2 separate regions of the Homo sapiens genome follow, and region 1 is linked to region 2. The links are contacts of gene promoters, found by promoter capture Hi-C in human tissues and cell types (Jung and others, 2019). All regions are on one chromosome and are shown on one strand. The core of a region is centred on a gene start or on the middle of the fragment in contact, and the rest is flanking DNA. Distances in the headings are between cores, read along the strand shown.

Region 1 (4,901 bases), core at 1,124-3,623, 200 kb before region 2:
GGTTGTGCAACTATCACCGTAACCTAATTCCAGAACATTTTTATCAGCCCCAAAAGAAACCCCTACCCACGAGCAGTCACTCCCCACTTCCCCTCCCACAGTCCCCGGCAACTACGAAGCTACTTTCTGTCTTCCTAATGTACAGACTTCCCTAATCTGGACATTTCCTATGAATGGAATCATACAACGTGTAGTCTTTTGTGACTGGCTTCACATAGCATCACATTTTCAAGGGACATGCATGTTGTAGCATGTGCTTCATTCTCTTTTTTGAGACAGGGCCTCACTCTGTTGTGCAGGCTGGAGTGTGGTGTTGCAATCATGGCTCGCTGCAGCCTCCATCTCCCAGGCTCAAGCGATCCTCCCACCTTAGCCTCCAGAGTAGCTGGGACCACAGGCATGTGCCACCACACCAAGCTAATTTTTTAATGTTTTGTAGTAGAGATGGGGTCTCACTATGTTGCCTAGGCTAGTCTTGAACTCCTAGGCTCAAGTGATCCTTTTGCCTCGGCCTCCCAAAGTGCTGGGATTACAGGCACGAGCCACCGTGTCTGGCAATTACTTCATTCTCTTATGGCTTAAAAATATTTGATTGCATGGATTGACCACATCTTGTTTATTCATTCACCTTTTGTTGGACATTTGGGTTATTTGCACCTTTCAGCTCTCATGAATAATGCTGCTGTGAACGCTCATAGGAGTGTTTGTGTGGACACACGTTTTCAGTTCTCGTGGATGTATACCTAGGAATGGAGTTGCTGAGTCATATGTGGTTCTTGGTTTTGGGATCACAAAAACCTGGAGATCTGCCATGCTGGGTCAGCCTTGGGGTACTTTTGGGTTAGGATTCTGCCTCCCGTAAATCTCTGCTGTCTCCTCATCTGGCTCATCATGGACCTGCCATCCCATTCCCAATACATCCAAGCCTTGAGTCCCCACGACACTCATACTTCCCTAGATATGCAGATAGTCTGACAACATCTCCAAAATTCAGGAGAAGAAACATGTCAGATACTTATAACTTTGATATGGCCTTCGGGGACATCTATTATCTAATACCGTTTCATTAGAAAAACATGAAGATATAAAAATGAACTCAAGGAGAGGAATTCTGATGGGGGTCTCCAAGGCTTCCTATAAAATATCGTGTAAGATTTCAGAAATGAAACTAAATTGTACATTAAATTTTTTTATTTCGTTGAAGCCTACTTTTCCAAAAAAAAAGTTCTTAAGGGGTTTCTGGGTAAAAGTAAAATCCGCTTGTTAATTATATCCTGAGCCCACCATCGCACGAGGAATTTTGTTTTCTTGACATCGACCAGATCTGATTAAGTGAATGGTCAAGGAGGTAATAACATCCCCTCTTTGAAGAGCTGGCTCTGGCCAGGCCCGTTTCTGATCATTTTAACAACTCGACTGGTTCCTCTAAAAAATTAAATGAAAGTTAGCCTCGAACCTGGAGGTACTTTTCCATTCATTTACTGTCGGTCCACGTCAATATTCTAAAGAGGTTTCAAGTGTTCCTCCTTTTTGAATAATTTATCATAGCTAATGAAAGCTTTAAAGATTGGCTAACGTGAAAGCGGAACAGGCATTCCCACAGGTGTCCCAAATGAAGCCTTTCTGGATGAAGAGATGAAAATACCCATTTCAGCTTCTGCAGCCCTGAAGCAATTCAGTTGATGGAGTTTACCTCAACTTAAGAAGGATTCATTGCGCATCCATTCTGAACACATCCTGTACAAATGAGATGTAAAGTAGTATTAAGAGGGGGCCTTAAACAGGGTAGGATAGGTTATACCGCAGTAACAAACAATGCCACAAATGTCAGCAGTTTAAAATAACGAACACATGTCTTACTGGGTCTCTGTTCATCTCACCCTCAGAGAGAAAGTAGTCCAGGCACAGTGGCTCATCATGCCTGTAATCCCAGCACTTTGGGAGGCTGAGGCAGGCAGATCACTTGAGCTCAGGAGTTTGAGACCAGCCTGGGCAACCTGGCAAAACCCCATTTCTATGAAAAAACAAACAAACAAACAAACAAATAATTGGCTGGGCGTGGTGGCACTTGCCTGTAGTCCCAGCTACTTGGGAGGCTGAGGTGGGAGGATGGCTTGAGCCCGGGAGGCAGAGGCTGCAGTGAGCCGAGATCATGCCTCTGCACTCCAGCCTGGGTGACAGAGCCAGACCCTGTCTCAAATAAAATAAAAAAGAAAAAGAAAAGAAAAGAAAAAAGAAAGTGGGCCGGGCGTGGTGGCTCACGCCTGTAATCCCAGCACTCTGGGAGGCTGAGGCGGGAGGATCATGAGGTCGGGAGATCGAGACCATTTTGGCTAACATGGTGAAACCCCATCTCTATTAAAAATACAAAAAATTAGCCGGGTGTGGTGGCGGGCGCCTGTAGTCCCAGCTAATCTGGAGGCTGAGGCAGGAGAATGGCGTGAACCTGGGAAGTGGAAAGTGGAGCTTGCAGTGAGCCGAGATAGGGCCACTGCACTCTAGACTGGGTGACAGAGCAAGACTCTGTCTCAAAAAAAAAAAAAAAAAAAAAAAAAAAAAGGAAAGAAACAGAAAAAAGAAAGCAAAGATCACCTCCGAGGGCTATTGATTTCTTTGTGGAGAAGAGATGTTTACTGACTGACATTTTCAAGTTGCTTGGATGCTGCCCTACTTAATTATGTTCTACTTTGTAAGTGTGGGCTCCAGGAGAGAGTGAGCCCTCCACTAAGAGGGCAAGCAACGTAAAGATAGCACCGTGGTTTTACTCCTTTCCCGTTTGCATTGATGCTCCAGTGCCAGGCTCAGCATGGAGCAGGTGACCCAAAACTGTGTAAGCGGCAGCAACAGGGAGCCCAGAGGTGTCATGCGTGAGTTTGAAACTTGCCTCTGGCACTCACAAGCTGCATGACTCAGACAGTTTTCTTAACCTCTCTGTGCCTCAGTTTCCTCATCTGTAAAGTGGGGGAGATAGGAGTCCCTTCTTCCCAGTGTACAAAGAGCAACTGAATCAGTGCCTGTCAAGCACCAAGAAGGGTTCCTTGGCACATCGTGGGCATCGTGTTTTTGATGAATAAATGAGAGCTGGCATCTTTTAAGTGTTGAGTTAGGAGTTGCACTAAGCACTCCACAAGGACTATTTCATTGAATCCTCACGGCTACTCAATGAAAGAGACATGCTGTGATGACCATTTTGCAGATGAGGAAACTGAGGCTTGGAGAGGTAATTTGCCTGGGGCCCCGTAACTAGTCCAAGGTGGAGCTAAAATTTGAACCTGGATCTTCCTGACTCCAGGGCCGACACTCTGTCTTGAAGCTATAGAACCTCTATTTGCAGAATAGAATAAAAAAGCTTAGTGAGATCAGTGATAAAAATGAATGAGATTGCCCTCATTTTTCTTGATTCGATGTATTGTTAACTCTGCATTCCGCCTTTTAACTCTTTAACTCTTCACTTGGCCTTTTAACATTCTTGGTTCCAACACACTTTCTAATCCCCTCACATCGATCCCTCTTCATAGACTCTCATCTCCTGGAACGGCTTCCAGGTTCCCACTGCTAGAGTCTCCAGTTAGCGCTTCTTGGACAAAACATAGTTAAATTAAAAACAGCACCATAGGCCAGGGATGGTGGCTCATGCCTGTAATCCCAGCACTTTGGGAGGCAGAGGCAGGCGGATCACCTGAGGTCAGGAGTTCAAGACCAGCCTGGCCAACATGGTGAAACCCCGTCTCTACTAAAAATACAAAAATTAGCCAGGGGTGGTGGTGCACGCCTGTAAGCCCAGCTACTTGGGAGGCTGAGGCAGGAGAATCACTTGAACCCAGGAGGCGGAGGCTGCAGTGAGCCGAGATCATGCCACTGCACTCCAACCTGGGCAACGAGAGCAAAACTCCATCTGAAAAACAAAAACCAAAAAACAAAAAAACCCAGCACCACCTTTCTGCCCTTTCTACCTCCATGTGTGTTACCTAAGTGGCCACCAAATGATACATCAACATAGCTTAACCCACTGCTTCCAAGTCCATCAGGCCGTCTTCACCATTTTCCTTACATGGGGTACCTGGGAGCTGCCCTCACCACTGAGTGGACTCAGGTCTTCCTTCTCTTTGTCACAGTCATGCTGTGGAGAAACGGGCAGGTTGTGCCATCTGTTCGAGACTCTTTCTCCTTTCAGTCAAGTTTGTGTCTTTCTTAAACTCACCCCTTCCTTTCCCACTCCTTCAGGTGATGGGGGCGAGGACTCTCGTGTTATGCCAAAGGCAGTACTTTGAGGAAACACCCAATGGAGAGTCTTCCCTGGTGCCATGCTTACAAATGAAGAGACAGTGATCTTCCAAAATACGGCGATACATAGAGCTGAGCCGAACCATGCACGTCTATACCCTTTTTGTAACAGAAACGCATCCTGGAGCTCTCCAGCGATTCCAGACTGTCTGAAGAATTGTCAGTTTCCCTAGTCTGTAGCGCACACCTACCATGTGCCAGGCTTTGTTCTAGAGACTGGGAATCAGAGCTGGGCAGGACAAGGTCTGTGGAGCCATGGAGCTCATGTGAAGGCGGGGTGGTGGAGATGTGGTTGTCACAGGCTGGTCTGAATGCAGGATGGGGACATGACACGTGGCTTCACTAAGACATGGGCCTTGAGTTTGGAGAACGGAGGTGGCCTGAGCTTTGGCTGGGAAAGCCCGGGTGTGGGTGGGGAGAGGGTGCCTGAGAGGACCATGCCCAGCCCTGGATTGAGGCATGTGCTGCTTATTTGCAGGAGTGAGACCCAGGCTTATCTGTGGGATTACACATCTCTGAGGGAGAGAAGAACCAGGACCAGAACGGAGGCCAGAAAGTGGCTTACCTAGCATGTCCGACTGGAGGGGCCAAGTCCAAGAAGGAAGAGAGGCGAAGTG
Region 2 (5,277 bases), core at 2,437-4,936:
CAGCATTCTCATTAAGGATTATCCAACTCAGTTGCAGGAGGGAGAGACAAGATGGGCTGGCTGCCAGGAATTCTTTCAACACAGATTCCGAAAGAATATCCTCCGAAGTGCCGAAAGCCCAGATTTTCAGCAGTTCACTTTCTAGATTCTGTTACATAGCAACCATGCCAGCTCACAGGGAGTACCAACCAAGTTAATATTTTGTTTAAATGACACACTGCATTAACCCGCTAGGAAAACCCAAATTTTCTTCATCAAAAGGGGATACCAACCTACCTACTGCCCGTTGTCATCCCTGGAACAAAACAGCCAATGATGGATTGATGAGTTTGCTTCATTCATTTAAAAAAAGAATTTAAAAAACAAAAACAAAAACATTTGAAAATGAATCTAACAGTCTCTTGGCAGAGGAAGCAAAAGGTGACTCTTTCCCAAAACCATTTGTACTAATATTGTTAAAGTTACATTAGCATGCATTTAATATGTGCATAATGCCCTTTCGTTAAAAGATGACTTACACGGTTGCATTTTGAAATGCAAAGATACTCGTTTTATTCAAAACCTTGATTTGAAAACTGATAACTCAATAGCACTTAAACACTCTTAGGGTCTGGGCCCATTGAACTGCACCAACACAGACAAAATGAAAACACAAGACTAATTTGGAAGAACAGTCAGAAACCCTGAGGAGCTGAGCCTCTGGGAGCCTCCCTGGAGGTGTATTACGAAGAATCAAGTGGAACCCAATCAATTGCACTTTAAAATTAACTTGTGTGAGAACTCAAGGCTTCTTTTTAGGATAATGAAAGCAATGGCAAAAGAAACTACCAGACCACCTCTGCAGAGGGTTTCTGTGCTAGCAGGATGCTGCCACAGGCTATGAAAAAAACAAAAACAAACAAAAACAACTCCCGCCCCCATCAAAAAAAAAAAATCCCCCAAACTTACAGAGGCTAAATAATGTATCAAGTACTGTTGCTACAGACAAGTAAATGATACCCCACTGAACTTATACGGGGGCTTGTTTTCTTTTCAACCATCACATCTGTTGAAATGCATATCAGTTTAGACGGTTATGCGGCCAACAATCAAGTAGAGTTTAAACCTTTGAACATTTTATTTTCTGATTATAAAAATCACAAAGTGCCCCTAGGAAAGATTTTGAGACATACCAATGTACAAAGAGGAGAAATCAAGACCACCCTTCATCCTACCACCCACAGCCAGCCACTGACATGGGCAGGCACAGTCCTGAGAGCGTATGGGAGCTGCTGGTTTTATGTGTTTTTAAGGATATCCAAGAGATCCAAAAGCCATTTTCATTTCCACAGCCCTGTGCATTTGTGTAGGAAAAAAGAACAAGGAATCAGCCCCCTGTTGCTCCACTACAACAATTTAACCATCCGCGAGTATGTCAGTTTTCAAGTTGAGCATGTGGACATCATTACTGCGTTGACTGCCTTAGCCTGCCCAGTCTACAACCAGACCCAGGACTCAGATAAAAAGCCACTTAACTTTTCCTTCGCGGAGAAAGGGGCAGACAGTGGGAAATAAACGAGCATTGTTCAGTGTCCTTTACTATACAGCTTTTGATTCTTAGCAAAATGCCAGTTCTTAGCTATTTCTTTAATGTTAGCAGAGCCTCTGCCTATAAAAAGTGAAGCATTACCTTGCAGTCTGTCTTTTTTTTTTTTTTTTTTTTTTGCACAGGTTCCAGTGGAGAATGTTCTTTCGCACACAATGACATTGCAAGGATGACAAGAATAACCACATGTCAAGCTTGCAGCAAGCACTAGGACCACAACACCTTCTCACCATTACGTCATGGCTACTTCCTTACCAAAGTACTCCCCCCAATTCCTAAGACTTCCAACAGGCTCCGGGAGTACCAAGTTAAGATCTGACTTGGAATTCGACATAAAACTGCACGTGGGCAGGCTTCACATCTCACCTCAAAGAAAGCACACCTTCCCAGGAAGATAAGGTGGAAACAGAGACTGATGGAGAGAACCAGATTCTTAGGAAAACAGACTCTCTCAACCCTCAAGAGAAGCTCTTGAAATGACAACAGAACCAGAAAATCATTTTGAGCCACTGAGCAATTGGTACCTTGCACTTCAAGTGACATATTTAGACAAGTGGACCTCATGGACTGGAGATTTGTTTCTGTCCTGTTCTGGATTTCAGCAGTTTAATTTGCAATTCAAATGATATTAATAACCAGTGATACTGTTTCTTAAAGGGCAATTAGGCAAAAAGAAAAAAAAAATCCCCCAAAGCCTGCTTACCCTTTTACTTTCTAAGTCACAGAAACCAAACAGTACATTTTAGGGAATGCCCCATCCGCCTTTATGTCTTGCAGGGGGTTTCAGAGCTTAATCTCTGTCAATGTGAACACAAACCAACTGTCTTTTTCTTCCTCTTCTCTAAACCGCAGAGTCCCTTCAAACGGGCTCCCTGCAGCCCACCACCCTAAGCCTTCATTTCTCTACCGCTCAACCTTTGAGGTCTACAGTATCCCCCTGGAAAGTGCTCTCGGTGTTTATATTTGCGGAAATTTAAACTCCCTGCTGAGCTGAGCATCTACTGTTGCATCTATAGATTCCAATGCCTGAGAGACCTCAAATGAGAAGAAAATAAAGTCCAGATGCAACTGAGCCAAGGGATTTGGCATCCGCGGAGAAAAGTGCACAGCAGTGCAATCCTCTATCCCAACCACGGCGGCAGAGCCCGGAGCTCTCTCTGGGAAGGAGCCTAAGGAAGTGGGGGGAACTGTGCCATTCACCCCTGCGGGGGGTGGGGAAAAGGCCCCGGCATGAAAAGTTTGCACGGAGCTAGGGGGCTGGTGCCACGGAAAGGGCACTTTCTGATGCCGGAAGGGACCCGCCGGCTGCGCCTCGCTCAGGCTGGCCGGGGCCGGTGTGACCGTGTGACCCCGTGCACACTGCGCTCGGGTTTTCGTGAATGACAGCAGCCTGCAACTCCCAGCCGGAGAGCAGCGGTGGCCACCGCCGGGCGGAAAGGGTTACAAGCCAGAATGCAAAGCGATTTCGCCCCGGGTGTGGGGGACCCCGGGTCCCCGGCCACCTCCGAGGCCGGGCGTGCTCTGCTCGCCTTCCTCCGCCCTGGGCGCCGGGGCGATCCTACCTTGCGCTCCAAGCTGGGGGTTCTCCATGTTCGTCGCCGCCGAGTCCCCCGCCGCCGAGGCGCTGGCCGCGGCTCCCGGGCCCGGGCCGGGGCCGCCGCCGCCGCTCAGTTCCGCCAGTCTCCGGTTGGTGGCCGTGAGTTCGGCTCGCAGGTTGGTCACCTCCTGGCTGGCCGACTGGACCGCCCCATCGATGCGGAGCGCGAGCTGCTTATTGTCTTCCATCATGCTCAGGATTTTGGCCTGGGGGCGAGAGAGGTGACAAAGAGCTGCATGATGCGCGGGGGGCGCGCGGCCGGGCACCCCCGGCTCTACCTGTTGTGTCCTCCGCGGCCCGGCTTCGCCCGCGCCCCGACCCCCAGGCACCGGCAGCGCCGGTTCCTCCGGCACAGGAATGACAGCGGCGCCTCCAGCCCTAGCCGCGGCGGTGGCGAGGCGGCGGGGGGAGGAGGCGGAGGAGAAAAAAGAGGAGGAGAAGGAGGAGGAGGAGCAGCGATCGCCGAGACCCCGGCGGGCGGGCGCCGAGAGCTGCTCCAAGAAGGACACCGCGCGCCACCAGGCACTCTTTAAATGGAGCCTACCATTCGCCGCCGGCTCGGGAGGGGGTCTCGGTCGGAGGCTGGGGGCACCCTTGGCCTCCCGCGCCCCCGTACTTCGGAGACACACCCCCCGGGGGGGCGGAGGCGGCGGACGGCAGTCGGGAGGGGGCCAAGGTGGCGCCCCTGGCGAGGGGCAGGGGTCGCCTGGACCGAGGCCGGCCCTCTGTCCCCTCCCTTGAGCGGTGGGGCAGCCCCCGCCCTGGAGAACTGGTGCCCCGAGCCGTGCTAAGGTTGGGGAGGTGCTGGGTGCTCGGAAGAGAGGGTGCTTGGAAAGGGGGCCTCAGAGGGGAGCCGGGGTGGATCTCCATGGAAGGGAGACGCTTGCGCCAGCTCAGGAGTGGAGTTCGTGCTCCACCGGTTCCTTAAACTGCGAGTACGAAATCCCCAGAGGGGAGCTGAGCTGGTGCCCCGCGTGCCTCTCACTCTCCACCCCCCACCCGCAGGCCAGACCTGCGCTGCCCACCCCAGGAGGGAGCGCCTATCTTCCTCGGCGTGGGCCGCTGGTGCTCCCGCCTCTCCACAGCCCTAGCCCTGTGTGTGCATCCAGGTGGAGGAGCAGCCTTAGCCAGCTCCTAAGCTTCTTAGCCGGGCTGAATATTGGCGGGGACAGAGATGAGGTTGAGAGATAAGAAGGAAGGCGTCGATGGGGCTTCTTCCCTTTCTTCTACTGGGAGCAGAAGAGTTGAGCCCTGCTGCCTCAGTTTACCCATCCCCTCTTCACAGAAGAACTGAGGTAACCTGACGTTGATATGCCCTCTCCAGCTCCTCTTTCTCTCCCAGACCACAGGCTTTGCATTTTTCACTGGGGCCCTGGATTCCAGCCACCAGACCTTGTTACCATAGCAAACTTCATTCCATGCAAATAGGACAATTTAAAACAGCCAGCAACCCTCTGGTCAACAGGGCGCCATCATTCCAGCTCAGTCAACCTCCGGAGAGCAGCAAAGAGCAGATTGCAGAAGCCAGTGGGGTGCTGCGAGGAAAAATGAGGCTGCCCACCCTTCAGGTTCTTACAGGAAGCCCATAAGAACCAAGCAAAAACTGCGTGTAGAGTGCTTTTATATGCATTCTTATCTCTTGTGAGTGAGGATTATTATTCCCATTTTAGGGATAAGGAAACTGAGGCTCTGCATAGGGTTAAGCAATTTACTTAAGGGGCCCGCAGAAACCAGGTGACAGCGGGACTGGAAGAAAGTAATCATCTGATTGCAAGTTCCTCCTGCTGCGCCTTCAGGAGGCCTTGGATGATAGATTTCTCCCCCCTTTTCTGTGGAACCATAAAAACAGTCTTGCTCCATTCCCCTGTGACCACTAACAAGCTTTTGCAAGAGGGCAGGATTTGATGGTGGAGCATGTGGCAGGAAGACACAATTCTTCACTCTGTCCGCTCTGCTCAGCTAATGGGTCAGTTCGGGGATCGAACCCTGACCTTAACCTCATTAACACAAGTTCTTACCAACTGGACCAACCAAGGCACTTAGAACTGCTTAGTGTATCTGCAAACCAGGATTCAGTTCTTTGCAGTCTTTCAGT

What was found. The method cuts DNA at HindIII sites, captures the fragments that hold promoters and counts their contacts. A contact is called where the count stands out against the background at its distance.
Region 1: a fragment that was not itself captured here is called in contact with the fragment with the promoter of KAZN in region 2 in 1 of the 25 tissues and cell types used here (H1 embryonic stem cells).

What each region holds. Positions count from the first base shown.
Region 1 is chr1:14,796,075-14,800,975 of GRCh38, reverse strand. All of the region lies in intron 1 of KAZN (kazrin, periplakin interacting protein), which reads right to left. Among named protein-coding and RNA genes, the nearest start is that of KAZN, 200 kb to the right of the region's middle. The HindIII fragment of the contact is 4,289 bases long and covers 229-4,517 here.
Region 2 is chr1:14,597,094-14,602,370 of GRCh38, reverse strand. It overlaps KAZN (kazrin, periplakin interacting protein), which reads right to left and starts at 3,686. Exons shown (of 15, transcript NM_201628.3): 1 at 3,148-3,686. The coding sequence starts at 3,373. RefSeq lists a silencer at 2,860-3,019. The HindIII fragment of the contact is 4,572 bases long and covers 121-4,692 here.